Regions from separate parts of the Homo sapiens genome. Here all the other regions are linked to region 3. Evidence: promoter capture Hi-C in 16 types of primary human blood cells and fetal thymus (Javierre and others, 2016). All regions are on one chromosome and are shown on one strand. The core of a region is centred on a gene start or on the middle of the fragment in contact, and the rest is flanking DNA. Distances in the headings are between cores, read along the strand shown. Region 1 overlaps SLC39A11 (solute carrier family 39 member 11). Region 2 overlaps SLC39A11 (solute carrier family 39 member 11). Region 3 holds the start of SSTR2 (somatostatin receptor 2). Region 4 overlaps SLC39A11 (solute carrier family 39 member 11).

Region 1 (6,543 bases), core at 54-2,553, 290 kb before region 3:
CTAAACTACCCTTGAAAAACTCTAGCCTCCAAATATGTGAGGAGGAGGACTTGAGATACATCTCCCATCCTTCCAACTTGGCTGGCCCTATAATTATCAAACTCTTTCTCTTCTGCAACTCTTGCCATTAAGTGTTTGGCTTTTCTGGGCATCAGTCAACTGCACTAAGAAAGCAGGTTTGCAGAATGAAGAGAGCTGATGGAAAACAGAAAAAAGAGACCCTGGTGGGAGGCAAAGGAGAATATGTGAACACGTGCCCTCAATTTCCCACCCCCTGACTCTAGCACCCCATGAGACTCAACTTAGCACACTGCCCTTGGATTGTTTCCTTGGAATATATTCTGCCTTCCTCCTTTAGCTGGTCTGAACTGGGTTTCGCTCCCAGAAACGGTTTGGCTCTGTGTCCCCACCCCCACAACAAATCTCACTTTGAATTGTAATAATCCCCATGTGTCAAGGGTGGGACCAGGTGGAGATAACTGAATCATGGGGGCAGTTTCCCCCATGCTATTCTCGTGATTCCTTCTCACAAGATCTGATGGTTTTATAAGGGGCTCCCCCCACTTGCTCAGCTCTCACTCTTTCTTGTGCTGCCTGTGAAGAGGTGCCTTCCACCATGACTGTAAGCTTCCTGAGGCCTCCCCAGGCACGCTGAACTGTGAGGCCATTAAACCTCTTTCCTTTATAAACTACCCAGTCTTGGGTATGTCTTTAATATCAGCGTGAGAACCGACTAATATACTCCCTTCCAACCACAGGCACCCTTCCTTGATGAAGACAAAACCACAGTTGCAATAAAGTCTTAATGGTTGACAGTATAATAGGAGACAAGGTAAGAAATGATCACTTAAATGTTTGCCAAGGGAAAGTAATCACCTGGGACTGGTGAGCATAAATGATTTTTGCTCCAAAGCAAAGAGAAAATCCAGAGTCCACTCTGGGTTTCCTGCCCGATGTAGAACTGTCTCTGTTCCTTCTCTCCCACCCCGGACATGCAGTTCCCTCTCATGATTTTGTGGGAAAGCTCCATCCTCAGCTAGGATGGATGCTCTGTGGACAAGAAGCTGAGGCGTCCATCTGCAAGGCTGTCGCAGGGATGCTGAGCAAAGCTGACACCAGGAGGGAGGGGAAAACCCCGCTGCTGGTAATTCAAGGTCCTATAATCTTCTCCCATTTTGCAGGTGAACAGCCTGGTATAGGAGCCTGAAGTTATCGGTCCAGAAAGAAAATGCAGGTTCCTGTCTCCTGTCACCTTCAAAACCTTGCTTCCAAAGAAATCATCAGGGAACACCCTGAGAGGAAAGAGCGAGCCCTGAAAAATGAGCAGAAGTATCCTTGATGGAGAGGAGGAAGTGGTAGCAATGTTGGGTTTTGTCTGTATTGGCCATAGCCAGCAAAAGCCCATTCCCCTGTCCCGCTCTAAGAAGAAAGCACAGCCAGGGCCTCCAACCCAACTGTGGACAAAGGAAATAAGACAAAGATTGTAGAGTTTGGGACCCAGTCATTCCTCGTTCTTTCCCACTGAAAACTGAGTGGAATACATTTTGTACCCCAAATGAAGCTAAAGAATATTACAGTGGCTGCAGGTTGAATAAACTGGGGGAAAGGAGGGAGAGACCAGAACCAAAAACACTCAGATGGGCAAATATATCTCAAACACAGCACGAGAGAAACACAGGGAGTAAATCACAGCAAAGAGAGAAAAAGAGGAGACAGGGTTATTTTGGGAAGAAAAAACTGGTGCAATTAGATGCAGAAATAACATTTTCAAAGGGGAGGAAGTCACAAGAAATGTAAGGAAGTGAGCTGTGTATATTATTTTAAATCTTGTTCACATTAACACTGTAAATATTCCAATTAATTCATCATTATTGAATTTGCCAGCAAGGCTAAGGGTAAAACTTCAGCCCAAAGTTTAATTATACCGAGGCAGAGTGGAGCATTTTTCATGTCCCCAAGAACTGCCAATGGAGAAAGATGAAGCTTTCATAATGGCCAGGGTGACAGCCACCTTTCTGAACACAGCTGTTACCTACCTGAGGACTTCCCAGGAAGCCAGCGGGATTCTGGAACCCCCTGAGGTTGTCCAGCTAATTTGCAAAGTGAGACAGAGTTTTATGGAAAAGCTATTCAAACCCACTGATGCCAAATGCTCCAACAATCTGTCCACCCTTCCCTTCCTCATCTCCCACAAAGGCACCCATGGCTGTGCATGTTTATGCGTGTGTCTGTCATCCTACATTCATGTGGCTCTGGTTGATTTCCCAGTTCGCATGCATTTACTTATTAACGATGATCTAATTCGGAGTCATTGTTTCTTTTCTAATCTATTTCTTTCTTTTCCCTTAGAGCACTTTCAATGCTTACTGTGTCAGACCCTCCTTCTGAGGAAGGAGGTGGGACTTGATTCCAAAGGCGAGGCTCAGTCACGGGACCAAACTGAGGACTAGCTAAAACAGGGGCAGGGTGGAAGCAGCTTTCTATTAGACATGTCCACCCAGTGTGCCATATCAGCTTAACACTGCCATGGCAACATCCTGGAGCTACCACCCCTTTCCATGGCAATGACCCAATGACCCAAAAGCTGCCACCCTTTTCCTAGGATTTTCTGTATATAATGCCCCTTAATCTAAATGTAATTAAAAGTAGGTTATAAATATAACTGCAAAACTGCCCTGAGCTGCTACTCTTGTCACACTGCCTTATAGGGTAGCCCTGCTCTGTGGGACCAGTCATGGGAGTGTCAAAGTTAAACCTGGAATGTTTCCTTCTTGTGATTTTGGGACATAACCATGCTCTGCCATGCCCAAAAGCCTCCATCAAGATCAATGGGTGGAAACAGAAATTGGATTATGGTGGTCAAATAAAAAATAAAGAGCTATTGTAGAATACTTAGGGGAGAAATGGGCAATGGTCAAATGCTTCATATCCCCTGGCCCCAAAGCCAAAGTCAAGTACAAAGAAGCCAAGGAAGCATGTTGTTAAGTTCCAAAAGTTTGTCTCTGCTTGTTAGAACATAGTGCTAGCAAGATCACAATCACAGGAACTTATGAAACAGGCCTAATTGTTGCATGAAACTGATATTTATGGTTTCTTTTGAATAAACACAGAAATGGACCCTCCCAGCCTTAAAACTTGAGAAAGTTACATTCGTCTTATCTGAGTTCCTTTCTCAGAAAACCAACCACCTAGTGCCTAGATAGTATCATGGAGCTGAAACTTACCAATCACTGCATCTGGACAATGAAACCCCTCACCTGTCATGATCACCTAACTGATCATGTGCTTCCTATTGACCAACTCCTCTACTCCTCCCTAATTCCTGTTTCCCCACACATGGTTCCATTTCTTCCCTGCTATATAAACCCCCTAATTTTAGTCAGTTGAAGAGAAGGATTTGAGACTGACCTCCTATCTCCTCAGCTGCAACACCTGATTAAGGCCTTTCCTGGCAGTACCCACTGTTTCAGTGATTGGCTTTCTGTGCAGCAAGCAACAAGACCTAGACCAAACCCCTGGTTTCAGTAACACTTAGAGCCTACAGAAACCACTCCAATTTCCCTGTGCCCACAACCACAAAATAAGCTCCCAGGCCCTAGCCAGGCACCCAGCAAATGCAGGTCCTTGGCTACAAGGTAGGCTAAGAAAAAATGCATAATGTAGGTTAGTGTCCCACCTGGGTTAGATAAAATCTAATTAAGCATCATCTTATCAAAAGAGCCAAAAGAATCATCATCTCTATAAAGAAGGGCACCAACACACACACATACACTCCCTTTTCTTTAGATCATTGTAAGCCTCAAGTTATAAAAAATGATGGTGTGTGTTAGGTGTGTGCTTTGGAGGGAAAATGCCAGAAAAGGCTTTGTGATCAAATGTTCCTGTCTTTCCAATCTAACTGCCTTTCTCTCTCACCTCTCTTTGCTTCAAGAACATTCATGACACTGGGTCTCTGAATAGTAATTCACAAGGCAAAATTATTGGCGGCTTTATATTACAGCCCATTTTCCTGACTCCTTTGAAGGGTGGGCAATTAGAACCTCAAACACAATTTTTTCATTCTGGCCAGTGCCACGTTAAAATGGGCAAAAAGCGGGGAAAATGGCCTCAACCTTTCTTTCGCAATCAGTTCACGATGCTTGATTGAAACCTACCAATTACTTTTCCCCCCATTTGCTCATGAGAGGTAATCAAGGTGGAAGAAAAATCTGAAGCTAGGAGAGACAGAGAAATTGCAGGCAATTTTCCCAGTGAAAGGGCTTTCTCTAGCTGCCTGATTCTGATGTCCCTATTAGGAGCTGGCTGAACATGGTCCATGGTCTCACGACAGACTTGGAGAGACCGGGGACAGCGTGCTTTACTCTGGCGCCTCAGGTCCAGAGCACGTGATGGCACTGGCCTTCATCTTCATTTTTATTTTTTTATTTTTATTTATTATTATTATTATTATTATACTTTAAGTTTTAGGGTACATGTGCACAACATGCAGGTTTGTTACATACGTATACATGTGCCATGTTGGTGTGCTGCACGCATTAACTCATCATTTAGCGTTAAGTATATCTCCTAATGCTATCCCTCCTCCCTCCCCCCACCCCACAACAGGCCCCAGTGCGTGATGTTCCCCTTCCTGGGTCCATGTGTTCTCATTGTTCAATTCCCGCCTATGAGTGAGAACACGCGGTGTTTGGTTTTTTGTCCTTGCGATAGTTTGCTGAGAATGATGGTTTCCAGCTTCATCCATGTCCCTACAAAGGACATGAACTCATCATTTTTTATGGCTGCATAGTATTCCATGGTGTATATGTGCCACATTTTCTTAATGGCACAAGGGGATCTCTCCTTTCCAGAACCAGGGCAGTCCGTCCCTAGAGGGACCTTGACTCTGTCAACCGACACTGTCACCTTCTGCTACCATCTTGGAAAGGGTATCTGGATGTTTCACTTCTCTTGGGGATTTCCAGAAAAAGACAGCCCATTAGGGTATTGTCTTCATGTATTTTAGGAAAATAAACAAGGTCCCCAGCCCCAGGGGCCTTCTTGCTGTGAACACACCAAGCTTGTTCCAACCTCTGGGCTTCTGTTCCTGTTTTTCTCTCTTGGCCTGGTATTCTCTTCCTCTAGACATTCCCATCATAACGGCTTTTGGCCAACATCCTTCAGACCTTACTCACATGCCATCTTCTCAGTGAACAGTCTCAATATCCCACTTAAAACATCAACATCCCCTACACCCCCTTTATTGCTGTATTTTTCTCCATACCTGTACTATATATAGGAATAAAATCCCATAATATTTTTCCCTACTCTCATATAAAAATCAACACAGAATACTTCTATGACCTCTGGTCACCAAACTGTATGGGGATTTCTCCCCACCAACATGGAGTGGGGGTAATTCAATTCAATCCAGACACTATCTACCTGGAGGTAGCATCAGATCCCACAGGTGAAGGCTCAGTCCCAAAAGACTGCCCATACTTCAGGTCAATTGCAAGTAGTAGGTTGTCACCTATGCTTCTGACTGATCCACTATAAATTGGGGTTCACACTAGACCTTCCTTGGGTTCAATTAATTTACTAGGATGGCTCACAGAACCCAAGGAAACACTTCACTTATGTTCACCATTTATTACAAAGAGTATTTTAAAGGATACAGATGAACAGCCAAATGGAAGCAATGCATAGGGAGGTTATATAGGAAGGGGGCGTGGAGCTTCCACGCCCTTTCCAGGCACACTATCCTCCAGGAACCTCCAAGTGTTCAGCTATCAGGAACTCATCCAAACCTTGCCCTTTGGGTTTTTTATGGAGGCGTCATGATTTAAGCCTGAATCATTAAGTCATTAGCCCAGAGGTCAGGAGGTGAGATTGAAAGTCCCAACCTTCTAATCATGCCCTGGTCTTTCTCTTCACCAGCCTCCATCCTGAAGCTATCTAGGGGCTCCCAGCCACCAGCCATCTCGCTTCCATACAAAAGATACTCTTATCACTCATACAAAAGATTCTCTTATCAACTCCAGAGATTCCATGGGTTTTAGGAACTGTATGCTAGAATGCCGGAGGAAAACCAATTATATATTTCACAATATCACAGTATCACTCACTGCTATCTAGTTTCTACATGCTCTTTTTACTTCATTATCATTTCTGCTGCCCAAAGCTAACACAAGCTCTGTGAGGACAGGAGGTTTTGTCTGTTTTGCCGTAGTGTTACTAAAACCACCCTCACAGGGTGAACAAGAATGACAAGCCAGGCTTTAGGCAGGATTATAGTTAGGCATGACCAGGGTGCCCTGGTGTACTTCAACCCACTTCCCTGCAGCTGCTGAGTGACAGGTAGCATGCTGACCACCTGCCCTCCCATTGTTTCTATAGATAAATCTCTCACCCTAGACCTTTTTACCCAAGAATTGCTTCAGGAATTCAGAAATTCCAGTGAAACTGGCAAATGCCACCTGGTCTGAAGACCCCCGCCAAGGAACCGACTCAGCACAAGAATGTGGTTTCTTCAGCTCCCTGTCCCATGACTTCACCCTACAC
Region 2 (5,944 bases), core at 2,939-5,438, 270 kb before region 3:
GATTCCTGTCATACTCTAATTGAGATCTGAAAGTGCTAGTGGTCCCTGCCCGCTGGAACACTTGCTGGACACCAGCCTCTTGACTGTCCCTCAAATACACCAAGCACCTACAAGCTCCAGGGCCTTCTCACGAATGCTCCCTGTGACCCGGATGCTCCTTCTGACTGGAGTGCTCCCTCCTAGGGTGCTCCCTCTGACCAGGATAATCTCTTCACACTCACTCTTGGCATTTTCTCTTTCACATCTTTCAGGTCTTTTCTCAAAACCCATCATCTTACAGGGGTCTTCCCTGACTGCCTGATCTAAAATAACAGCCCAGTCACACTTTCATCCCAGTACCCTGCTTTTCTTTTTCCCTGCAGAGCCAGATAACATTACCTTATGTATCTTTGTCTATTATCTGTCTCTTCCACTGGACTATAAAGTCCTGTGAGGGCAGGAGCTTTGTCTTTTTGGGTACACTGATGTCATCCCAGAGTTCAGGATAGCACGAATCACACACCCATCAGATGAGTGAGTGAATGAATAAATGGATCAGATAATGAATGAAGGAATGGATCAACTGGCTATCAACCGCAGTGGAAAGCTGGACCCCTGGAAAAGTCTACCTCCTCCAGTCTGTATCAGAAAGGGGCTATGCAACAGGACAGAGAAAGTGCATCGAAACTCCGTTTTCAAGCCAATGGGCTCAACCACACTAAGGAAACAGCCGCAAAGATGAGGAGCACTTCTCCCGAGGGCTCTGCCTTCTTCCCCTTTCATCTGCATCATCTTTCTTGTGCCTGTGTATGCAGTAGGTGGCTTTGAAAGGCAGAGACAAATGTCAGAATGCAACACTGCACAGTTCTTATTGCTTTCAACAGTTTCCCGTCTTCCGTCATAACGAGAACAGTCGCAGCCATGCTATAATTTTCTGTTTAGGTAACATCTTATTTGCATTCTGAAACCATGTCCTTTTTCCTATTACTGATATAAAAGATTGCTTATTTCTAATTATATTGCAGGCATTCAGGGAATTCAAAGAGCAGAAAATATGTCAGGAACAATTTACAAATTGTGGCTATTTGTGTACATGCTTGCCTGGACTCCAGCAAATTTAGAAACGAAAAAAAAAATTGCTTATTAAAGTGCCATCTCTCCTCAGCAGATCTCTGCTTCTATTTGTTCTCTCAGTCCTAACTAAATACAAACCTAAACCCTAAGTGTGAATGTGCTTGTGAAGAAAAGTACTCTTCCCCACTTCTCAATTGTTTTCAATGAGAATTTCGAAGTGATATTTTCCCCACTGCTCCCATCCTGCCTTGGAAATTCCATTTCTCTCACACTCAAGTCATTATTTCTAAAAACAAAACAACAAAAAGAAACACACATTTTTCTGTTTTTGTGATTTGAGATGTCTCAAGAGCTAGAAAATTCTTCCCAGAGTCGTATGAGTCAGTACTGAATAACTATTCCACAGATATTAGGACGAACATACTGTGCATGAGGTGGAGAACCTTCATACTCAAAATGAAACCCTGAGTCTAAACTTATTTTGTTCCACATTTTAAGCTCGAATAAATTATAAGAAGCTTGAAGATGTAAAATATGCCTTCTATTTCTTTGGTATCTTGCCACAGTGCTAAGGAAAGAACAAACATACAGAACTTTCAACGTATTAATTTTCAATCCAGGAACCTTCATAGATCTGAACAAAGCCACTCAAAAGAGCCTAAACACATGGCTCTACCTGATCCCAACAGATGGGGTTAGTGGTTGATTGTCAACAGTTGCCTGCATTTATCTCCCAAAAGGCCTTCTGGAACCTCTTCCCTGACCTAAATAGAGACGCTTCTAAACATTTTAGAAGGCATGATCTTTTCAGAGTCCCATGCAACAACATCATTTTGCCTACTCGATCAGCTCTAAGCTTATTTCATCCAAGATAAGTGTTGAGGCCAGGTGTTGTGGTTCACACCTGTAATGGCAGCACTTTGGGAGGCTGAGGAAGGAGGATCACTTGAGGCCAGGAGTTCAAGATCAGCCTGGGCAACATAGCAAGACTCCATCTCGATAAAAGATGAAAAAATTAGCCAGGCATGGTAACGTGCACCTGTAGTCTCAGCTACTTGGGAGGCTGAGGAGAGAGGATTGCTTAAGCCCATGAGTTCAAGACTGCAGTGAGCTATGATTGTGGCCCTACACTCCAATCTGTGTGGTATAGCAAGACCCTGTCTCTCAAAAAAAAAGAAAGAAAAGAAAAAACGAAAGTGTAGACAGGAGTAACTAGATACAGTTGCAGAGACATGGTGTGCAGAGGTCAAACATGTTCATAAAGAGGCCTCAGACTCAAGCAAAATTCTACTATTGCCCAAATAAACTCTGACTCTGAATACAGGGCAAATCTCTATTTGCCCATTTTAAAAGGGAGGTTCGATCAATGTGAATTTATAAACGTTTAGAGATGCAGATATGGATACCAAATATCTATTAGCCATACTTAAACCATTAATTTAGTTACAGATGTGTATTTAAAATAAAATAAAATATTATATAAAATATATTACATGGCCAGATGCAGTGGCTCACGCCTGTAATCCCAGCACTTTGGGAGGCCAAGGCAGATGGATCACCTGAGGTCAGGAGTTTGAGACCAGCCTAGCCAACATGGTGAAACCCCATCTCCAATAAAAATACAAAAATCAGCTGGGCATGGTGGCGGGCACCTGTAATCCCAGCTACTTGGAAAGCTGAGGTAGGAGAATTGCTTGAACCTGGGAGGTGGAGGTTGCAGTGAGCTGAGGTGGAGGTTGCAGTGAGCTGAGATCGTGCCACTGCACTCCAGCCTGGGTGACAGAGGGAGACTCCATCTCAAAAAAAAAAAAAATACGTTAAATAACAAATACTGCTTTTATACATTCTGACATTTCACAAAACAATTTGATTCAATCTCTGCTTCTTTGATGCTAGTGTTGTTGCATTCACAAGAAACGCTTCTTGACTTATCAATTTTCAACAGCACATAATTTTTACTTCCATCTAAATTAAGATTTGGCTGTTGCATAATCTGCATGATACTGTCACCAGTAATTTTATCCTGAGCCACAAAGACTCACTTGCACGGCAATAGTTTTTTCATTGTTTGTATTCATCCTATAGGAGTATTAGTGATTTGCACTAGGAAGCCACGTGCTGTACTGAGTAGCATGGCTTGAGTATCGTGTAAGGAGCAATGGACTCTGATCCAGTGAAGGGCTGGAAGCAAGAAAATGCATAGAGTTAGGTGGGTGAGAGATGGCACAAAACCAGAGGCAGGGCAGGCATGGTGGCTCACACCTGTAATCCCAGCACTTTGGGAGGCCGAGGGTGGCAGATCTCTTGAGATCAGGAGTTCAAAACCAGCCTGGCCAACATGGTGAAACCTGGTCTCCACTAAAAATACAAAAAAAAAATTAGCTGGGCATGGTGGCAGGTGCCTGTAATCCCAGCTACTTGGGAGGCTGAGACAGGAGTATCACTTGAACCCAGGAGGCAGAGGTTACAGTGAGCCGAGATAGCGCCACTGCACTCCAGCTTGGGTGACAGAGTGAGACTCCATCTCAAACAAACAACAACAACAACAAAAAAAAAAAAAACCACCAGAGGCAGAGGAATGCAAAAAGAGTCCGTTGGTATGGTCCCAGCAAGTTATAACTAGGGATTCAACTAGACCAGTCATAGTAGGAAGGGATTCAAGAAACATTTGTGAAGCAAAATCAGCAGGGCTTGGTAACTAAGTGGATTTGGGGGATTAGAGAAAAGGAAAAGAGAGAAATGATGCTGAGGTTCCTGGCTTGAGTGACTGAGTAGATTTGGTTCCATTCAACTCTTCTGGGTATAAGTAATAAAGGAGACAGAGAAAGCTGAACTGGGAGAAAAAAGCTATCAGGTAATGTATTCTATTTTAGACCCATTGAATACAAGTGGCTGTTGGACAGATAAGTAAGCTATCTGGCAAGAGCAGGGGGATTTCATTCTGACATTTAGGAAAGAAAGCTTGGCTGGAGAATCAATTTGGGAGCCTGAGCCCCTAAATTCTAAGTAGAACTGTGAGTCTGGGTGAGATTCCAGGAGAGAATGCCAGGAAAAAGTGGACTGCTGATGAAATGTAGGGGGATAGAAAACTAATTTAATGGATAGGCAAAGAAAGAGAAGCCCAAAGGGGGACTGGTAAGATGTCACCAGAAAGGAAGGATGAGAATGATTAAGCACTGCAAATATACTGAGAATTTCAGCAAAATCATGAGTCATGATTTTCCACTGGATTTGATGTTTAGTGGGTCGCTGATCACAAGGGGGTGGAAAGTGAAGAAATGCAAATAGCTCTCACGTACCTGTATTTTCCAAAGCTTTGTTGAAAACATAAGAAAACAAAATGGATATCAGGTTGGGGGGTGGGGGGTGGCAGGGCGGAGGGAAGACTTTTCCAGATAAAAGACATATGAGGCTGGGCTCACACCTGTAATCCCAGCACTTTGGGAGGCCAAGGTGAGTGGATCACCCGAGGTCAGGAGTTCAAGACCAGCCTGATCAACATGGTGAAACCCCATCTCTACTAAAAATACAAAATTAGCTGGGCGTGGTGGCACATGCCTGTAATCCCAGCTCCTCAGGAGGCTGAGGCACGAGAATCGCTTGAACCCGGGAGGTGATTTGGACTCTTGCTCTCCTGCCTGGACGCCCCTGCCAACCTTCTCTACCCTCTCAAAAAAACAGAGAAAATAAAGACTTGGAAGGACCTGAAGAAAATTCCTCAGATCATCCTGTTCCCCAGCTGCCTTTCCAATCTCCCACCCTCATAGCCTCCCACTTGCTGCTCCCCAGTCTGGAAGGTTCTATCCTCACTCTCTCCCCTCAGTTCATGATTCAGGTCCCTGCTCAATGCCTTTTTTGAACATCCTATCAAAAATACTCCCTGGTCACTCTCTCTCCGGCCATTACCTCGCTTTTACTTCCCTCTTTGGTTTTAAACCTACTTGGCATTATTACACATATAGATATAGATATATATTAACACACACAGATACATACATATAAGTGCATATATAATATAAAGCCAATAGAAATGATTTTATTACTATTTATTACTATTTTATATTTAAATAAAATTATTTAAAACATAATTTTAAAATTATTTTAAAAATGTAAAATAATTTTTATTATTTTAAAATTTAAAAAACTCTCCTCCACTAACTCATGAGCCTGGGGCATTACTGTTCTGTGCTATGCACTTCTGCAGCCTCAGGGCCTAGCACAGTGTCCAGCACACAGTAGGTGCTCAATAAAGATGTGCTGAATGAATACTATGAAGAGCCAAGGTAGAGATAAGACTATTTTTTTTCCCCAAGGATTGCACAGGATGAAATGAACTTCCCTAGCAATATAAGGGAAAACATTAATAATTTCTTGTCTAATTATAAAAAGTTATTAGAGGCTGGGCGCAGTGGCTCACACCTGTAATCTGGGAGGCCGAGGTGGGCAGATCACCTAAAGTCAGGAGTTTAAGACCAGCCAGGCCAACATGGTGAAACCCTGTCTCTACTAAAAGTAAAAAAAAATTAGTCAGGTGTGATGGCGCATACCTGTAATCCCAGCTATTCAAGAGGCTGAGGTAGGAGAATTGCTTGAACTCAGGAGGTGGAGGATACAGTGAGCTGAGATCACACCACTGCACTCCAGCCTGGGCAACAAAGTGAGACTCCATCTCAAAAAAAAAAAAAAAAAATCTTATTAGAGCCCAGAATAGATGTCAAAGAGAAACACAGAATCTCCTCTTGAGAGTCTTAGAAAAAAAAGATAATTATCTTTCTGGGGTAGAAAAAGAATAAAGATAAATAGATTAAATAATACTGTATGGTTCGTTTCAAATTCAAGAGTCTATTTCCCCACTGATTTGGGGTTATTTTTTGCCTGTCTTTTCCAAATG
Region 3 (6,648 bases), core at 3,713-6,212:
ATTCTAGACTTGTTTGGGGGTGGTTTCCAAAGAGCTTCTAATGCCTACTCACTCACTTGGCCAATGTATTCCCTGAGGGTCGAGGTTGCTAATAGAGAAAAATGGTGACACGCCATGCCAGACTCATAGCTGTTGAGGGCTAGGGGACAGAGAGAGGAAGAAAGGTCCTCATTTGAATTCTTTGTGTATTTGAAGAGACTATTAAATCGACTATGCCAAATGCCCCCCCAACCTCCTTTTTTTTTTTTTTTTTTGAAACAGGGTCTTGCTCTATCACCCAGGCGGGAGTGTAGTGGCATGATCTTGGCTCACTACAACCTCCACCTCTCGAGCTCACGAGATCCTCCCATCTCAGCCCCTCAAGTAGCTGGAACTACAGGTGTGCACCACCATGCTTGGCTAATTTTTTTTTTTTTTTTTTTTTTGTAGAGATGAGGTCTCACTATATTGCCCAGGATGGTCTCAAACTCCTGGGCTCAAGTGATCCTCCTTCCTCAGCCTTCCAAAATGCTGGGATTACAGGCATGAGCCACTGTGCCCAGCCCTCAAGTTTTTAAACAGTGATATGGTGACTGTACTCTATATTTTCCAAACTAAACATCAGGACCCATGGTATCAGAAAGGCTTTTACATGCTGACATTTCCATTTTCGTAAAATGCGGATGGTTTGTGGGGGACAAGGGAAATAACAGCTAAAAACAGGAGTGTCCCAGGAAGCCAAGGTACTACGATCACCATGCCGAGTATCTTCTCCCCCGCCCCCTCAAACCACCGGATATCTGATGTTCTCCACGGCAGAAGCATTGCTCTTTTCTCATCAATAGAAATGGCAGACCTCACCCTGGCATTCCCGTAAAGATGATAAAAACCACATTGGATGCTCAGACTGGTATCTAACACTCTCAAACACATCCAATCCTCCCCTCAGGGCTCTCTTGCTTTCCTCCAGGCTTAATTGCAATACTTACTTTCACCAAATTGATTGCAGACTAACAATTTCCCCCATTTAATTTATTAAGCCACTCAGAGACATAATGACCTATTTGGGAGTTGTGTCTTCCCTGTGGAGCTCCTAGACGATGAACTCCTCTTGGCAAGAGTGAACCGAGCAGCCCCTCCCCATGGAAGGGGCTGGACACTGGCCTGGCCCTTTGTCCTCCTCCTTTTCTTAATTTCCTGCCACCTATTGTCTCTCTGATAACTGCTGACAGAGGGAAGGGTGCTATTTAATTGCTTTAAAGATATCAAACAAGCCAGTTAGAAGGTTATCTCCTCCCCAACCCCTCTATTTTTCTGGCTCAAGGTTTTGTTACTTAGTTACTAGCCAAGCTGCAGAGGAAGAAGAGGTAGCCCCATGTGGATTACAGCTCAGACTTCATTCAGCAGATGGAGGGCAGAGTCAAAATAGCCTGGGGGAGCCAAAGGTGGAATAGGAACTCGAGGTTGGCCCCTGAGTGCTGCTGGCAGCCCAAACTGCTCTTTGGAGGCCTTCAAAGGTGGGGAGGGGAGAAGAGAGGAGGCATTCATTTTCTGGACAAAATCAACAATCATCCTAGATGACACATTTCTGCTGTCAAGGTCCATGTTGTTCAGAGCCCACTCAGCCAGCTGCAGTAAGACAGGTGTGCCTAACGTGGGTGCATCAGTACTTTTTCCAGGCTGGGTCTGCCCTATGTGATAAGGAGGGGAAGGCTCGACAAGGAAAGTGCATGAAGGGGAATGTTGCTTTATTTGGTCATCCACATTAAAGAGCATACAGGGCTACATGTGGTGGCTCACACCTGTAATCCCAGCATTTTGGGATTATTCAGCCTATTCAGGAGGCTGAGGTGGGCGATTACCTGAAGTCAGTAGTTCAAGACCGGCCTGGCCAACATGGTGAAACCCTGTCTCTACTAAAATTACAAAAATTAGCCAGGCATGGTGGCAACCGCCCGGAGTCCCAGCTACGCAGGAGGCTGAGGCAGCAGAATCACTTGAGCCTGGGAGGCAGAGGTTGCTGTGAGCTGACATCACGCCACTGCACTCCACCTTGGACAACAGAGTGAGACTCCGTCTCAAAAAAAATAAAAATTAGGCCAGGCGTGGTGGCTCATGCCTGTAATCCCAGCACTTTGGGAGCCCGAGGCGGGTGGATCACTTGAGGTCAGGAGTTTGAGACTAGCCTGGGCAACATAGTGAAACCCCGTCTCTACTAAAAATACAAAACTTAGCAGGGCATGGTGGCGCACACCTGTAATCCCAGCTCCTCGGGACGCTGAGGTACAAGAATCGCTTGAACCTGGGAGGTGGAGGTTGCAGTGGGCCAAGATCGCACCACTGCACTCCAGCCTGGGCAACAAGAGCGAAACTCCATCTCAAAAAAAAAAAAAAAAAAAAAAAAAAGAGGTCAGGCACGGTGGCTCACACCTGTAATCCCAGCACTTTGGGAGGCCGAGGTGGGTGAATCACGAGGTCAGGAGATCAAGATCATACTGGGTAACACAGTGAAACCGCATCTCTACTAAAACTACAAAAAATTAGCCAGGCACGGTGGCACGTGCCTGTAGCCCCAGCTACTCGGGAGGCTGAGGCAGGAGAACGGTGTGAACCCGGGAGGTGGGGCTTGCAGTGAGCCAAGATCGTGCCACTGCACTCCAGCCTGGGCGACAGAGCGAGACTCCGTCTCAAAAAAGAAAGAAAGAAAGAAGGAAAGAAAGAAAGAAAGAAAGAAAGGAAGGAAGGAAGGAAGAAAGAACAGGACTTCAAACAGAGCATACTTAGTTATGGGTCCCCTCCCCACACAGAAAAACTCCCTGGACATCAATGACTTCATCCATTCGGACTGGCAGATAGGCCACATTTCCTGACACCCTGTCTCTTCACCTTAAAAGGGTTAGCTTTCCACCACACCAGCAAAGACCCTCAGGACACACGATTCATATTCCCAGCTGAGCATCTACCCGGAGGTAAGCAGACGCTCAGGCACCTGGGCCGTCCTTGCCCTAATCCCTCCAGTGGTGTCCACACTGAGTCCTGCAGCACTGGTAGAAGGTGGTCTTCGGCTCATCTGCAGAGTGGGTCTGAAGCTACATGTAGTAAGCACAAGGAGGTTCTCATTGAGGACATGGCTCTGCAGTAGAGTCAACATCCTCCCAGGCAGCTGCTCCCCCAAGCCCATCATCCACTTCTTTCAGCTTTGAGTACTTCCAATTTGTTACCTTGTGGGTGAAGTGCACACAGAGGCACGTGTTGCAGGCGAGGGAGTGGCAGCGGCAGCGCTGTCCCTCCTCCACGATCAGCCCATCCCTGCAGCCAGGGTAGAACAGCAGCATCATCTCGGACTCTGCTGGCTCCAGTTATTATTTTTTTTAATGAAACGTAAATCTGGTATTAACAGTTTGAGAACTTTTAGGAAAGGAATTTGAGGGCAGAGTGGGCACTTCCTGGCTCTTCCTTCTTTTCCTGGAAACCAGTCAGATTACTGGTTTTAAACTGGAGGTGGCAACAGGCATTGTAGCAACTGTGTGGCCAGAGGATGCCGAGTTCCCCTGAGCACAATTCCACGATGCCCTCCTGATATTACTATTACCTCTCTGCCTCTCCCTCTTCCCACTGACGGTGAGCAGACACAGCCCTCTTCCAGTGAGCTAGCCACCCCAGCCCTTCCACTTGCATACACATGTCTAAAAGAGATGCTGGCTCCCAGATTGACTCCTGGAACTTAAGGCAATTGCAGCTCAATTTCCATCTCACCCTGAGCTCCAGGATGCCAAGATTTAAGCCCTATCATGACCAACGTCTCAGAGAGAGATGGAAACTCCTGATCCCCATCTCACAGTGGGTACCCCAAGATACAGCTTGGCCCAGATAGAAGAGAGAGCTGGCTGCTGCTGTACCTGGTGGTTGCTTTTCCATGTCACTCATCTATCTCTAAGGCTCACCCCACCTGCCACACAGCTTCTGGACTTTTACTTTTCCCTGGTGAATTGGAAATCAGATAATAGGATGGACAAATCAAGGCAGCTCAGCTCACAGAGAAAGCTAGTTGGGGTTTGCTTTCTGTTTTCACATCCTCTAAAACTGTACTGAGGATGGTGTGTGTGTGTGTGTGTGTGTGTGTGTGTGTGTATACCTATGTACTTGGAGGAGGGTGAGGAAGGGGAGGCTGCAGGATTGATTATGACTTATTAAACTATTGGAAAAGAGGCTGAATCATCACAGTCAAAAATAAACAGCTGCAACTCCATGCGACTCCCACTTCTTGCCTGCTCCCCTTTGCTCCCTCACAGCATGTAGGAGAGACTGTGCTGGGTCAGACCAGCAGGTGCTGACTGACGTGGCTACAGCAAGGGGACCACCTGTATGGCCGCTGCACCTCCAAGCTGTGGGACGCAGGGACAGCTGGGACCAGTCGACGTCCACTGGCCCTCTGATGGCTCCTAGGACTGAATCTTGGACTCCAGGTGCGGGTTTACACTCCCTGCGCTCATTGGGAACTGCATGGAGAAGCGCTATCCCCTGAGCCCTTTTTCTCCCTACTCTTAGCCTGGCCCTGCGCCCTGCGCCCGGGGCTGGCCCACGGTAAACACAGCTTTGCTAACTTGTTTGGCTAAGGAAATCACAGAGGTCCCGGTATAAGTCTGGGTCACCCCGGCCGCCACTCCAGCTGCCTAGAATATATGGGTGGAAGGGAATCGACTCTGTGAAATCAGAGGGAAAATAGCGCTTGTCCTTGCCATGAGTCTTGAGGAGACCGAAAACGCTTAACCTTTTACGCCCCCGCAGGCGGGTCCCCTCTCTCCCCGCTCCCCGGCTGTCTGTAAGCTCTGCCTGCGGCCACCCGCAGGCGTTTCAGCCGGTCTCACCCCTGTCCTTCTGCAGGACCCGGGAGGAGGGGTTGGGGGGGCGGAGCGAAGCCGCTGTGACGTAGCGGGAGGGGGGCGTGGGGAAATGTGCCGAGGGGCCCGGGCTGGCTGGGCCAGTCCCAGCGGCGCAGCCACCCATGCGCGCGCGCTCGCAAGACCACCAGCGCCCAGAGCCCCAGTCTGAGGCTTGGCGCCGGGGGTCTGCGGGCGAGGGGAGCTCTCTACGTGCGAGGGGCTAGCGGGAGCCGGCACAAGAGGGTCGAGGAGCCAGGAACCCCAAACGTCCGGCGCCAGGCGCTAGCCAAGCTGCTGCGCGCCCCGGCGCCCAGCTGGCTCGGGGACAGCCGCTGGGTGTCGGAGACCGGAGCTAGCGGATTGCAGCGGAAAAGCAAAGGTGAGGGGTGTGTGTGTGTGTGTGTGTGTGTGTGTGTGTGTGTGTGTGATAAGAGAGATGGAGGGAGCGAGAAGCGCACTTGGGCACCTGTGTGCATCTGCGCTGATGGTGGTGTGCCCATCCGAGTGCCTGAGCTTAGGTCCCGGTGCGTGATTCTCCGCTCTTGTGCCTTTTGGGGTGATTGTAGTAGGAATGAACGACAACGGGTACCCTTGCCTGAGTAAGGGGGCTGTGGGTAGAGTGTGCTGGAACGGACGTGTCCTCGCAGCCTCATGCCCGTGTGCGTGGCGTGTGCCCTTTAGCCCGAGATTTCAGGTAGCTGCGACGGGTGACAACTTCTCTCCCAGCCCCCTACAAAAGAGACCTGGCGCGAGGGGAGCGAGGCCGTGAGATGCCAGCTGGGGCTCCTGCGGGAGCGCACCCGGAGATCCGAGCCTGCCAGAGGCAGGCGGCGGGCGCAGAGCGGAGAAAGAGGGGCTTCTCTCCCTAGACGCTGAACGATCTAGGATCCGTCCCCGTCCCCCACCTCGGGACAGAAAGGACAGTTTGTCTAGGTTTGGAGAGAAAAAACCACTGCATAGGCCGTGCCCAAAAGCCGCTGGCCAAGTCCCCCAAGCGACTGTCTTCTGCGCCCCGATGTCTCTGTCCTCAGCGCCCCCCCCCCACACCCGGCACCCCTGCTGTGCGTTTCGATACTGGGCGTGCTGGCGCCACAATCTCCGCTCTTGCCTCGTCTTCCTGGAAATGGCACAGAGTTCTTTGGGAAACCCTTGCTCTGAGGATCAGCGAGTTGGATGGCCAGGAGGAGGACTTTCTGTGCCAGCCGGGAGCAACCGGCTCCGCGGTCCTGACACTCGCCCCTCCATTTCTCAACCCCGTAGGCCAGCACCGCCCCGGCTTTTCCCAGGCGCTCACGCGCCGCGGTGGCCCTCAGGGGCTTTTGTCACCCTGCCAGTGGGGGCTCTCGCTCTAGCCGCACAGAGACCAAGCCGGGTTCTGCAGGCCCTGAGGGAGGCGGGGGGTGGGAAGTGAATGCGGGAAACATGATGGGGAGAGGAGAAACTGAAGCTGAGTAGGATTTAGGACCTCCCCTGATGTCGGGTCGCCATCCCAACACTCATTTCTTGGGCTGGTAATCACAGCCCCTATGTAAAAGGGGGGCGGGGGGGGCAGGTGCGTGAGACCATTCTCACCCTCCTCTCTACAGAGCCTGGACATGGTTCAGAGGAAACCAACCACTAGCCATTTCCAGCATCTAACAATTCTTGGGCTGGAAAAACAAAGAATGCAGAAAACGAAACTTCCTTGTACATTTAATTTAACCACAATTCATCTAGAATTGTCTGCCTGGCATTGGAATATTCTTTCTCTGAAACAAAAATGAAACAGAAGTCTCTGGAAGACCTT
Region 4 (6,415 bases), core at 3,048-5,547, 310 kb before region 3:
TGATGCGCGAGCAGCTCTGCCACAATGGAACGAGGGAAGCGGCTGGACAGACAATCAGAAGGAATCAGATATACATCAACAAGCAGAGATGGGAAACCATGCAGCTAGACAGGAGAGAGAAGGGCAGAACTGCAGCCCACGTGCCACAGACATTCATGGGCCATCCGTAGCACCCAGCCCTTGGGTTTTCTGAGCAAACCTTCCTTTTAAAAATGCCTTTACAAATTGGCTTATATTGGAAGAATGTCATTCTTAGAACCTTATTCTAAATATCCATGGTCCCCTGGGCTATTTGTTTATTCATAATGGAGCCAAATTGTGTGGATTTGAAATTGGGAGGACAAGAGTGGGAGAGAGCATCCAGCTTTCAGTTCACAGCATGGGATGGATTTGTGGGGAAGGCTTTCTAGAGGAGATAGGTCTTGAGTGAATCTTAAACACGTGATGGCACAGACAGAATGAAGGGTCCCTTTATTGGGAGAGAAAACCCAGCAAGCATAACTCAGGTGTCTGTTAAATTAAATAAGCAAAAGGCCATTGGTCTGAGGCTGTACTTTGAGTTGCTTCGCAGTGAACTACAACCTAACTTAGTATGTATACAAATGAAAATCTCATTAGGAGTATATATTTTTTGTAATAGGATAGCTAGATCTCAGTCAATCACAAGCGGCTGAGCTTCAACCAATCACAGGCAGCCAAGCTTCAGCCAACCAGAGGCAGCCAACTGATCAGACTAAGTCCAAATAAGGTAAATGCCTAACTGTAACCAATTAAGCTATTTCTATACTTTATTTCCTGCTTGAATTTCAAAAAACACGGAGCTCTCTGAATGTCTTCTAGTTTTGAATGCTGCCTAATTCACGAAGCCTTTAATGCTTAAATAAATTTAAAAACATTAGAAGAAAAAAACTTCTTTTGAAAATCATTTTGTGGCCAGGCGCAGTAGCTCACACCTGTAATCCCAGCACTTTGGGAGGCCGAGGCAGGCGGATCATGAGGTCAGGAGATTGAGACCATCCTGGCTAACACGGTGAAACCCTATCTCTACTAAAAATACAAAAATTAACTGGGCGTGGTGGCAGGCGCCTGTAGTCCCAGCTATTCGGGAGGCTGAGTGAGGCAGGAGAATGGCTTGAACCCAGGAGGCGGAGCTTGCAGTGACCCGAGATCCCGCGGCTGCACTCCAGCCTGGGCAACAGAGCAAGACTCCGTCTCAAAAAAAAAAAAAAAAAAAAAAAACAGAAAGAAAGAAAGAAAATCATTTTGTATTTATTTGCTCAAATCCTACAAGTACAGATTGAAAAGTAAGAAAGTACAGGGCAGGTAGACTCACTCCTCCCCAGCTCCCAATCATTTCTCTCTTACTAACAGCTGAATCTCAGTTCCATTAGGAAAAGGGGGGTCTTTGGTCCTCCACAACGCAAGGATGCCAGTCCTCCACTGGTCAGTAGCCCTGACTCACATAACCAGCCTGTGGAGAATTCAGCTGTCTCAATTGGATAGCAACTCCTCCCAGACAGTATTTACACAAGGCGAAGCTCCACACTCATTGTGTGGTATCCACACCATGTGTATGCATGTACGTGTGTGTGTGCATGTGTGCATGTGTATGTGCGTGTGGGTGCATACAACTGCTACTCAGTACCATCCTGAGATATTAGATCACCTTCGTGTATGTATGCACATGTGTGCACTTCTGTGCACACATTGGGGGAAGGGGTTTTATACATTTTGAGTAGACAATATGTAGATGACTCAGGCTGCAGATGCTGGTTGAGAAACTGAACTAAACATCTGGGATTTCAAGCTCACAAATGCTAAAGACATAAGCAAAGCAGTCCCTGAGAGCTGTCCATGAACTAACCTGGGTCATGGTGGAGGGTCCTCAGCTTTCTCCTAGATCAGTCAGCAAACATTCCTGATTTCCTGTGCCTGGTCTGAGCATACAGGCCTGCACTAGATGCTCTCCAGTGAGAGTTGATAGGGGCCAAAAGAAAAATCTCTTCTCTTGCAGACTTTTGATTGATTGATTGATTGATTGATTAAGCAGGGTCCCACTCTGTTGCCCAGGCTAGAGTGCAGTGGCACAATCTCAGCTCACTGCAGCCTCCACCTCCCAGGCTCAAGCAATCCTCCCACCTCGGCCTCCCAAGTAGCTGGAACTATAGGTGCACGCCACCATGGCCAGCTAACTTTTGTATTTTTTTTTTTTTTTTTCAGTAGAGACAGGGTTTTGCTGCATTGACCAGTCTGGTCTTGAATTCCTGGACTCAAGCGATCCACCTGCCTTGGCCTCCAAAAGTGCTAGGATTATAGGTATGAGCCACTGCACCTTGCCCCTTGGGGATTTTATAATTTAAGAGAGGGCAGACAGAGAAGACACACACAAATTCCCTCAAATCTAAGGGGCTAAACACACACTCTAACAATCACCGACAGTTGCGCTTGTTTTTGCCAATGTCACAAAAGGATCCTACTCTGAATCTCCTGCAGATACCGCACAGAGAGCAACAGACCTCGGACGCACCACGAGCAAATTCTAGCGTTCTGCTTGTGTTTTATAGGAACATCAAGGAGCATAAAGAATTCTTCACCAAAATAAAAATGCACGCCTGGCCCCAGGCTTCCAATGTGTGAAAACTGACGTCAGTGCCTTCCCTAGTAGGAAACAGGAGGGTGTGAATGCCTCACGTCCTTGTGAAAGTTAAATAAGCCACCATTTGGTGACAGCCACTAATGAGTCTGCAACAAGGAAGATTAGTCCAAATAAATCATTACAGAGTATGATGCGTCGTGAGCAATGAATCTTCTTGCCGCTCCTGGTAAGGCTAGTTCAACCATCACACCCATCAAGTAAAATGCTAGTGCGTGGGAAAAGGATGATCAGTTAGCGGAGGCAATTGCCAAGCACCTTGTGGGATGTGAGGGTGTGCCAGAGTGACAAGAACCTCGTGAGGTTTCTTGAAATTGGAAAGGTTTGGGCACTTTTGAAGTGGAGTTTGGGAAGGAGGAGTAGAGGGGGGACTATTTCATTTAGGGATGAAATAGTCAATGTCAAACTCAGAAGCAAAACAACATCAGAGACACTGGTTAATAGGTAATATTGGGAACTTATCTTCAATGAGTCCTCAATCCTTACAAAAGCCCCATGAAGTAGAGATTAATCCCCTTTAACGAATGAGTAAATTGAAGAACAGAGAGGCAGAGTAACTGGTCCCAGGTCACACAGCCAGTCTGCAGTGGACTCAGGAGTCGACTCAGCATCTTTGCCTCCAGGAGCCCCTCTTTTAACTAGGGCCTCATGGTTGACTGGGGATGAAGTGGGGGGTGGGGTGGGGGTGGAGAAAAGGCTGAACTGCTCATTGCTTGCCAAAAAAGGTAGTGGGAGCAGTTGCTGCCGTGAGAAGGAGAGTCTGGTGAGCTCTCATTGCCTGTGACCAGAGTGGGGAAAGACTCAGGAGAAATCTCGTATCTATAATCATTCTTACTTGCAGACAAACCTGAAACATTTCATGATAGTAGTATGTGTTAACCCATTAGACCTACTATTTCTAAGCATAAAGTAATTGCAAGCAGAAAATATTTACCCATGCTAAGCCCACAACACAGGCTTATACTTCTTTTGGGAAGGAGAATGAAGATTCTTTGTTGTTAGGAAAAAAAAGTTGCCCATCATTAAAATTTTGTTTTTTAACTTATAATTGAGCATCTAAGAATTCACACAAAGAAAGGACCCACTGCCAGGGCTCAGCCTCTCATCCTTCCCACTCCATCTTTCCTGGAAAAGAACCACAGTGCTACATGAAAGGGTGAGGACGACAATAAAACAGACAGAAAAGTCCCAGGCTCACTTTTCCCACGGAATCACCAGGTGATCTTTTCTGATGCATCCGCTTCCCTGATTTCCTCTTCCCCAAAACAAAGGACATGATTGTGGCCACAAAACATCATAGGATGGAGAAAAGCAGACACGGGTCTTGCGGGCACAAGCCCAGGGGCCATCAGCAAACCCTGCTGCCCAGGTAAGCCCCTGCCCTTCAAGGTCTGGCTTCCTCCCTGCAGAGTGGAAGTCTCTGAAGTCCTCTAGTGAATGGCCCCAAACCATTTTGGATCAGCAACCGCCTTTGAAAGTACGGCGAAAGTTACAATCCAGCAAAAAATACACAGACCATTTTGAAATAATTGTCGGGTCCTTATGGATTCAAGAACGTCAGACTGAGAACATCTTGCTAGATAAATGCCAAGTTAACCTCCGTTTTCATAGCCCACGGGCCCAATCACACCAGCAACACAGAATGTATGTGGTCCCTGAGATGGTGTAACCGGCTAAATCTAATGGGCCCAATGATGGAATTGCAGGCCCCCGATGAATATGGCAATGCTAATTAACAGAACACTAGCCAAGAGAGCTTTAACAACATTCCCATGGTATTATTGGAGATGATTTGGTTGGATTAGCACAAATGGCAAATCGTCATCTGTTAAGTGCAGAAAGCATCAAATCCCTGGAAAAACTCTTTCTAAACCCCTGTTACAAAACAAAATGAAGAGTGGCCAGCAACATATATTCATTAAGTAGTATGTATACACAAACAAAACCAAAGGCCAATCAAAAGCAGAATAGAGGCCGGGTGCGGTGGCTCACGCCTGTAATCACAGCACTTTGGGAGGCCGAGGTGGGCAGATCACAAGGTCAGAAGATCGAGACCATCCTGGCTAACACAGTGAAACCCCGTCTCTACTAAAAAATACAAAAAATTAGCCAGGCGTGGTGGCGGGCACCTGTAGTCCTAGCTACTTGGGAGGCTGAGGCAGGAGAATGGCGTGAACCCGGGAGGCGGAGCTTGCAGTGAGCCAAGATGGCGCCACTGCACTCCAGCCTGGGCGACAAAGCGAGAATCCGTCTCAAAAAAAAAAAAAGCAGAATAGAAGGGGATCAACTTATATTGTCCCTGCCTTCTTGTTTCCCAAAGAATCAGTCTAGTTTCAGGTAACACAAATTATTATTTACATTCTCATATGATGGGAACTTTTGGCTATTTCTAGACTTTTTTTCTTATAAATATCACTGTAAAACCTTTAATGTATATAAACAATCAGAAATTGGACAAAGTTCCCAGAAGTTGAACTGTTGATCAAAGGGCCATGATACAATTCCCTAATAAATTTCCAGGAAGGCTGTGTCACTTACCCATGAACAGAGTTTGCAAGTTCTCATTATGCCGCTTCTTAGCCCTGGTATTTCTCATCTTGAAATAAGTATATTTATTTATGGGGCAAATGACATTTCTCTTAATGGGTATTTCTTTGACTACAAGTGAGGTGGAACATTTTTCAATTTCAGGCATATTTCTTTCCTCTTTTGAAAGATGCCTGCTGCCCAAATGAGGCCTCTTTAAATAACAGTAATATGATTAGCTAATTATTTACAGACACTGGTAATTTTCCTGTGATCCGCTTAGGTTTGTCAATGAGACCTAGCTGGGAGTAGCAGGTATTATTATACATCAGACAGACGTATCCACTTGGCCAAGTTGGAGTTTTAGCCTCAAATTTTAAAATTCCTTTTTGAGATTCCTCAAGACATTATAGGGCTTTAAAAAAAAGTATTACCTGCTTTCCTTATGGAACTATGTAGTATGATCCTGAAAGCTAATTTTCTCAGGCAATTGTCTCTTTCAATATTAAAACTTTTTTTTTTTCTTTTTTGAGATAGATTCTTGCTCTGTCACCCAGGCTGGAATGCAGTGGCGCAATCTCGGTTCACTGTAACACCCGCCTCCCAGGTTCAAGCAGTTCTCCTGCTTCGGCCTCCAGAGTAGCTGGGACTACAGACATGCACCACCCCACCCGGCTAATTTTTGTATTTTTAGTAGAGATGGGGTTTCACCATGTTGGCCAGGCTGGTCTTGAACTCCTGACCTCAGGTGATCCACCTGCCTTGGCCTCCCAAAGTGCTGGGATTACAGGCGTAAGCCACCACATTCTTTTTTAAAAAACTTTCACTTTAGGTTCAGGGCTACATGTGCAGGTTTGTTATACAGGTAAACTCATGTCACGGGGGTTTGTTGTACAAATTATTTTGTCACCTAGGTACTAAGCCTAGTACCCAATAGTTACTTTTTCTGATCCTCTCCCTCCTCCCACCCTCCACCCTCAAGCAGGCTCTAGTGTCTGTTGTTCCCTTCTCTGTGTCCACAAGTTCTCATCATTTAACTTCCACTTGTAAGTGAGAACAACTGGCATTTGGTTTTCTGTTCCTGCATTAGTTTGCTAAGGATAATAGCCTCCAACTCCATCTGTGTTCCCAAAAAAGACATGATCTCATTTTTTTTATGGATGCATAGTATTCCATGGTATATATGTACCATATTTTCTTTATCCAACCTGTCACTGATAGGCATTTAGGTTGATT

Evidence for each region. Contacts are between HindIII fragments. The CHiCAGO score rates a contact against its expected background, and 5 or more counts as called.
Region 1: a fragment that was not itself captured here is called in contact with the fragment with the promoter of SSTR2 in region 3 in 2 of 17 cell types (M1 macrophages and M0 macrophages); the score reaches 6.6 in M1 macrophages.
Region 2: a contact is called between a fragment that was not itself captured here and the fragment with the promoter of SSTR2 in region 3, in 1 of 17 cell types (M0 macrophages). The highest score is 5.0, in M0 macrophages.
Region 4: a fragment that was not itself captured here is called in contact with the fragment with the promoter of SSTR2 in region 3 in 1 of 17 cell types (M1 macrophages); the score reaches 5.5 in M1 macrophages.

Annotation. Positions count from the first base shown.
Region 1 is chr17:72,873,384-72,879,926 of GRCh38, forward strand. The region is part of intron 5 of SLC39A11 (solute carrier family 39 member 11); the gene reads right to left. Among named protein-coding and RNA genes, the nearest start is that of SLC39A11, 220 kb to the right of the region's middle. The HindIII fragment of the contact is 1,356 bases long and covers 626-1,981 here.
Region 2 is chr17:72,886,685-72,892,628 of GRCh38, forward strand. The region is part of intron 5 of SLC39A11 (solute carrier family 39 member 11); the gene reads right to left. Among named protein-coding and RNA genes, the nearest start is that of SLC39A11, 200 kb to the right of the region's middle. The HindIII fragment of the contact is 353 bases long and covers 4,013-4,365 here.
Region 3 is chr17:73,160,048-73,166,695 of GRCh38, forward strand. SSTR2 (somatostatin receptor 2) reads left to right here and starts at 4,963. Exons shown (of 2, transcript NM_001050.3): 1 at 4,963-5,241. It also overlaps the pseudogene POLR3KP2. RefSeq lists an enhancer at 4,088-4,337 and a silencer at 4,878-5,217. The HindIII fragment of the contact is 15,303 bases long and covers 1-6,648 here.
Region 4 is chr17:72,850,990-72,857,404 of GRCh38, forward strand. All of the region lies in intron 5 of SLC39A11 (solute carrier family 39 member 11), which reads right to left. Among named protein-coding and RNA genes, the nearest start is that of LINC00511, 210 kb to the left of the region's middle. The HindIII fragment of the contact is 7,198 bases long and covers 699-6,415 here.